Linked DNA regions of Homo sapiens: region 1 is linked to region 2. The links are contacts of gene promoters, found by promoter capture Hi-C in blood cells and fetal thymus (Javierre and others, 2016). All regions are on one chromosome and are shown on one strand. Each heading gives the region's core, a stretch centred on a gene start or on the middle of the fragment in contact. The rest is flanking DNA. Distances are from core to core; before and after follow the strand shown.

Region 1 (2,712 bases), core at 35-2,534, 43 kb before region 2:
TGCTGTCGAGTTCCTCTAGCTCTTGCCCTCTGCTGGCAGGGGCGGGTAATATATTGGTTTGCTGCTACCCCATTCACTCCAGCCTCGGGAGGCTAGCTTACCTTTGTGCCGGGGATGGGGACAAAGGACATGAACTCATCCACGTGGCCCACAGTCAGCCAGTCTGAGTAGAGCTCCACGGGCGCCTGCACCTGCTGGGCCTTCAGGAAGTCACGCACCACCTTGGTCATCCTCCGACCACCAGACCTGGAGAAGGGAGGAAGAGGAGTTTCAGCAAATTACCCACCGCACCAGAGGGCCTGCAAGAGGAGTTTGGTCTCTGGGACCCACCTCGGACCCAGAGTGACATCAGCAGAGAAGTCCCAGGAAGGAGACTAGGTTGGGTTAAGAGACCCTGGCGCAGGCAGTAAGGCGTTTGAGTCCCAGGGGAAAGAGTAGGTGTGAGTTGCAGCTGCGGCCTGTGTGAAGGGCAGGGAGCCCAGGCTTCAGCCCTTGAGGGTGCCAGTGAGTGTGCAGAGGCTACCTTTTGTGTGCGGGAGTCCCACCTGGCCTGCTGGACGGGGCTAGGGCACAGGAGGGCTCCAAAATCTGCCCTCATCCATGTGCCTCTTTGCTACATTAACTTCTACTTACTTTAATCTTTTTTTTTTCCCCCGAGATGGAGTCTTGCTATGTTGCCCAGGCTGGAGTAGAGTGGCATGATCTTGGTTCACTGCAACCTCTGCCTCCCGGGTTCAAGCAATTCTCCTGCCTCAGCATCCTGAGTAGCTGGGACTACAGGCGTGTGCCACCACGCCCGGCTAATTTTTGCATTTTTAGTAGAGACAGGGTTTCACCATGTTGGCCAAGCTGGTCTTGAACTCCTGACCTCATGATCCGCCCTCCTTGGCCTCCCAAACTGCTGGGATTACAGGTGTGAGCCACTGTGCCTGGACTTACTTTAATCTTTAATCAGTTCAAGAGAAACCTCCTCCAGGAAGCCCTTCCTCATTTCTTTTTTTGTGTGTGTTTGTTTTTTGTATTTTGAGACAGAGTCTAACTCTGTCACCAGTGCAGTGGCATGATCTCAGCTCACTGCAATATCTCCCTCCCTGGTTCAAGCGATCCTCCTTCCTCAGCCTCCCAAGTAGCTGGGACTACAGGTGCCCACCACCCCGCCCAGCTAATTTTTTTGCATTTTTAGTAGAGATGGGGTTTTACCATGTCGGCCAGGATGGTCTCGATCTCTTGACTTCGTGATCTGCCCACCTCAGCTTTCCAAAGTGCTGGGATTACAGGTGTGAGCCACCGCTCCCGGCCAGCCCTTCCTCATTTCTAGACCCCCCAAGGTCTGCAATCTCTCCATTATCCTCCGAAGATAACCCTAGCTCCTTAGGGTGGCCAACAAATTCCTTTCTGATCTGGCTCCTGGCCAGCCCTCCTCCCTCGCTTCCCTCCCTTCCCCCGGTTCTGTCTGCTCCAGCCACCTGCTACACTTGCTATCCCTTGGGGCTTTTCCCTTTGCTGTTCCTTCTGTATGGAATGCGCTTCCTTTACAATCTCCTGATGGCTGCCTACTTCTTAACATCCAAGCCTCAACTCTAGTCACATCTTCAAAAAAACAACAGCTAAGGCACCCCTGTCCCCAGGAATGTTTTATCATGTCACCCTGTTTTATCTTCTCCATTGCATGTATCAGCATTCAGAATTATCTAATTGATTTACTTGATTCCATGTTTATTTTCTGTACTGCCCTTACCCAACTATAAACTCCCGGAGAGCTGGGACTTCATCTGTTCTGGTCACCGCTGTATCCCCAGAGCCTAGAATAGTGCCTGGCACAGAGTAGTTTCTCAATAAATATTTGTCTTTAAGGGCCGCCCCTGAGCTCCTCGAGGGGGTTCAGGGCCACTCCCTGGGCTGACCTGACTCCCTGTTATTCTTTCTATCGTTGCAAGTCCCTCCATTTCATCAGGGTCTATTTGCATGCCTGAGACCTCTGCTATCTCCTTGAAGGCAGGGGCTGGGCTTCCTGTTTGGGACCCTGTGCCTGACACAGGGCCTGGCACTTGGCTGGTGCTCAGGAAATGGTTGCTGAGTGAATGAGTGGCCACTGAGTGGAGGGAGAAGGAGGCAAAAGTGGGCAAACAGTCGCTGGCTGTGCCAGTGGCCTCCCCGCAGAAGGCTGAGCATCCCATGTGGCTCGGAGGAAACTGGCGGCCAAATCCTGGCTGACCCCATCTGTGCAGGCTCCTGGCAGCCCTTTTGTGACGTGAGAACCTAAGGTATTCACTCTTTCCCCAGCGACTGCCCTGACAAGGAAGAATCTGTCTTTTCACTGGCTGGTGGGTCAACTGGGCAGGGAGTGAGGAGAATCATGGACAGGCCAGGGAGCCAGGGACTCACATTTCTGGGGCAGGACCACGTCTGCTCATACCTCTTTTAAGTATGGTAGCCCTGAGGATTCATTGGTACGCTCCCACTCATACCTGTCAGTTTTCCTTCTCTGGACTCCTCCATCCCTTCCCCAGCTGATTTATTTAATATTTTATTTTATTTTATTTTGTTTTTTGAGACGCAGTTTCACTCTTGTTGCCCAGGCTGGAGTGCAATGGCGCGATCTCGGCTCACTGCAACCTCTGCCTCCTGAGTTCAAGCGATTCTTCTGCCTCAGCCTCTTGAGTAGCTGGGATTACAGGCATGTGCCACCACGCCCGGCTAATTTTGTATTTT
Region 2 (2,700 bases), core at 43-2,542:
GAGGCAGGGTGCTCCAGGTGTCAGGATGATTTGAGAGCCATAAACCACGATGGTGCCTCCGTGTGAGTTCAGCTTGAGGCAGAGAGGATAGGGGACTCATCCGGTGTCAGCACAGGGTCCCACCTCAGAGTCCTGCATGCTCCCTGCCCCCAGCACTGACCCCTCCAACCCTAGCAATGGGGAGGTTTTAAATGCTTGGAATAGAGGGGGCAGATCAAACCCCAGCATAACCCCACCCTTTCATTCACACCAGCCACACCTTTCCAAGGCCCCGTCCCATTACTCAGGGAGACAGATCATTGGACTTGGCTGCTTTCTGGGATTGCGGGGGGAGTGGTAGGGCCCTACCCTACCTTCAGCTGTCTCGGACATCCCGCACTCTACCAAGTTCTTGGACAGAGAGAAGGGGAGGGAGCAGAACTCTGAATCAGGATCCTTTTCCAACAAAGTACCCCGCTATACACCCCAAGTCCCCGTCGTCAGCTGGGTAGAATATTGTCCCTCTGTGGTCTCAGAATGAAGTCAGGGGAAGGTATCTGGGGACACGGAGCTCAGGGCCAGTGCCTGGGGACAAGCAACCACCAGCAGCCCCCACAGGGCGAAATCGGAGCCTGAGTAACCTCCAGGGCCGGATTCAGCCTCAGGGCAGCTCCCTTCGGGTCCTGCCCCAGTCCCCGGCAAGTCTCCGCGGAAGCTCCGCTGAACTGGGAGTGGGAAGCAGGAGAGGGGCTGGGTTGAGGTGGGTCCGAGGGGAAGTGAGGTGCGGAGGGGAAGTGAAAGGGGAGAGGACGGCAGGGAAGCTGAAGGGGTGTGAGGTCCCCCGGGAGGAGAACTGGAGAGGGCCAGACGGAGGGTTACGGGTGAAAGGGAGGGTCTGTGAGGGAGCTGGGGCTGAGGCTGTGTTAGGGGGTCTGGGAGAGTCTCAGGGTTTCTGGAAGGTGGACACAAGGTTCGGGGGTTGTCAGGTTTCTGGATGAGATTCTTAGGATTTCTGGGCTCGGGGGCTCGGGATGAGGGACAACTCGGGCTGGACAAAGGCTGTCCACGTCCCCGAGTCTGAGCGCGTCTCAGGATTTCTGGGCTCGAGATCTCGGCCCGGGCATCACGGTGGGCCGGCTCACCTGTAGACATCGGTCCAGAGGTAGGTGCCCAGCACGTACACCGCCTCCACGCGGCTCCCGTACTGCAGCCGCACGGTCCGCTCGCGCAGCATCCTCCCCGCCGCAGTGCCCGCGCTCGCTGGTCCGGGGCGGCCGGGAGCACCTGCAGCAGGTGCGCCTTCTCCAGCAGCCTGCGCCCCACGGCCCCGCGCGCAGCCTTATCCAGCGGCCGGTGGGCGGGGCGGCCCGCCCCAGTCCTCTCGCAGTGGGCTGCGGGCCTGTCCGTCAAGCGTGGTCCCGCCCCTAACTCGTCCCGCCCCGCTGAGGTCGTGGCGAAGTCATCAGGGACCAGTTTTGTGCTTTCCATGGTTGGATTGTCATTCTTTCATTCGACAAACCTTCGGTGGGCGCCCAGGTGTTGGAGGGCCCTAGCTCCCCTCCGGACGCCCCAGCCCAGTGGGGCTGAAAATGCAAATGTGGGAACACAAAGAGGGTGCCCTAACCCAGCCTGGGGGCCAGGAAGCCTTCCCAGAGAAGACGATCCTGGAACCTTCTTAAAGGAGGCGTTTGCAAATTAAAGGCGAGGAGAGGGAGCTGCCTGTGCAAAGCCGGGTGCAGCCCGGTACCCCCATCCCCCAACAGTCAGATGAACCTCACCATAGAGAAAACGGGAAGCGGTGGGGATGGGGAACCCGGCAGCTGAGGGAGACCAGGACGCCAAGCCAAGGCATTGGAGGGTGGGAGATGGGAGCCTGGAGTGGTTGTCTCCGCGAGCCGTGGTCGGGTGTGCTCGTGAAATGGGTCATTCTGGGCTGGGGAGGGGCAAGGAAGCCCCTGGCTGTGGCCAGAGCTGGAGAGGTGGGGACTGACCCGGCCACTGCTTAGGGACTGGGATTTTGGTGGCACCTGGTGACTGATAGGATGTGTGGGTGGAGGGAGAGGAGAGGGGTAAGGATTAGGGCCCCGGTTCTGGCCTGGGCCACCAAGGGAAGGGGGGTGCCACCCAGAGGTCATCGTGTGTCTCACAGAGGCTGAGATGTAGGATGACAATCAGTGTGGGCCTCGGCCAGCCCCTCCCATGTCCCAGCCCTTCCCCTGGGACCCAGTGGGAGTGCTGTTCAGACACATACATCAGCCCTGTGTGAGGAAGTGGTCTTTGGTAGGTGAGGACAGAAACTGAGGGGGGGTGGGCAGAGGCCGTGGGAGGGAAGGAGTGGGGCGGAGGGGATGTGTGTTTGGGAAGGAGTTAGAGCTGATGGAAGATGGAGCTCCAGGAACGGGTGCCCCCAGACAAGAGGGGTGAGGCCCACAAGTGCCCAGTGCTGATATACCCAGCCCTTGGACTCCAACCTTCTCCCTGAGGCGGCCCAAATTAGGAGGTGGTGAAGAGCCCAGCTGCTTCTGAGTGGCAGGGATTTGGGAGGAATGTGAGTGGGGAAGAGGGAAGGCCCGAGTTTTAGCCAGGAGGTCATTTGTCCCCCAAAGGCACAGCTCACAGACCCAGGGAGAGGCCAGTAACTGTTTTTTTTTTTTTTTTTTGAGACAGAGTTTTCCTCTTGTTACCCAGGCTGGAGTACAATGGCGCCATCTCAGCTCATTG

Evidence for each region. Contacts are between HindIII fragments. The CHiCAGO score rates a contact against its expected background, and 5 or more counts as called.
Region 1: a contact is called between a fragment that was not itself captured here and the fragment with the promoter of PADI2 in region 2, in 4 of 17 cell types (neutrophils, M0 macrophages, M1 macrophages and 1 more). The highest score is 14.5, in neutrophils.

The regions. Positions count from the first base shown.
Region 1 is chr1:17,075,578-17,078,289 of GRCh38, forward strand. PADI2 (peptidyl arginine deiminase 2) reads right to left here. Exons shown (of 16, transcript NM_007365.3): 12 at 102-246. Among named protein-coding and RNA genes, the nearest start is that of SDHB, 23 kb to the left of the region's middle. The HindIII fragment of the contact is 7,913 bases long and covers 1-2,712 here.
Region 2 is chr1:17,118,159-17,120,858 of GRCh38, forward strand. PADI2 (peptidyl arginine deiminase 2) reads right to left here and starts at 1,293. Exons shown (of 16, transcript NM_007365.3): 1 at 1,122-1,293. The coding sequence starts at 1,213. RefSeq lists a silencer at 1,103-1,312 and an enhancer at 1,884-2,418. The HindIII fragment of the contact is 8,283 bases long and covers 1-2,700 here.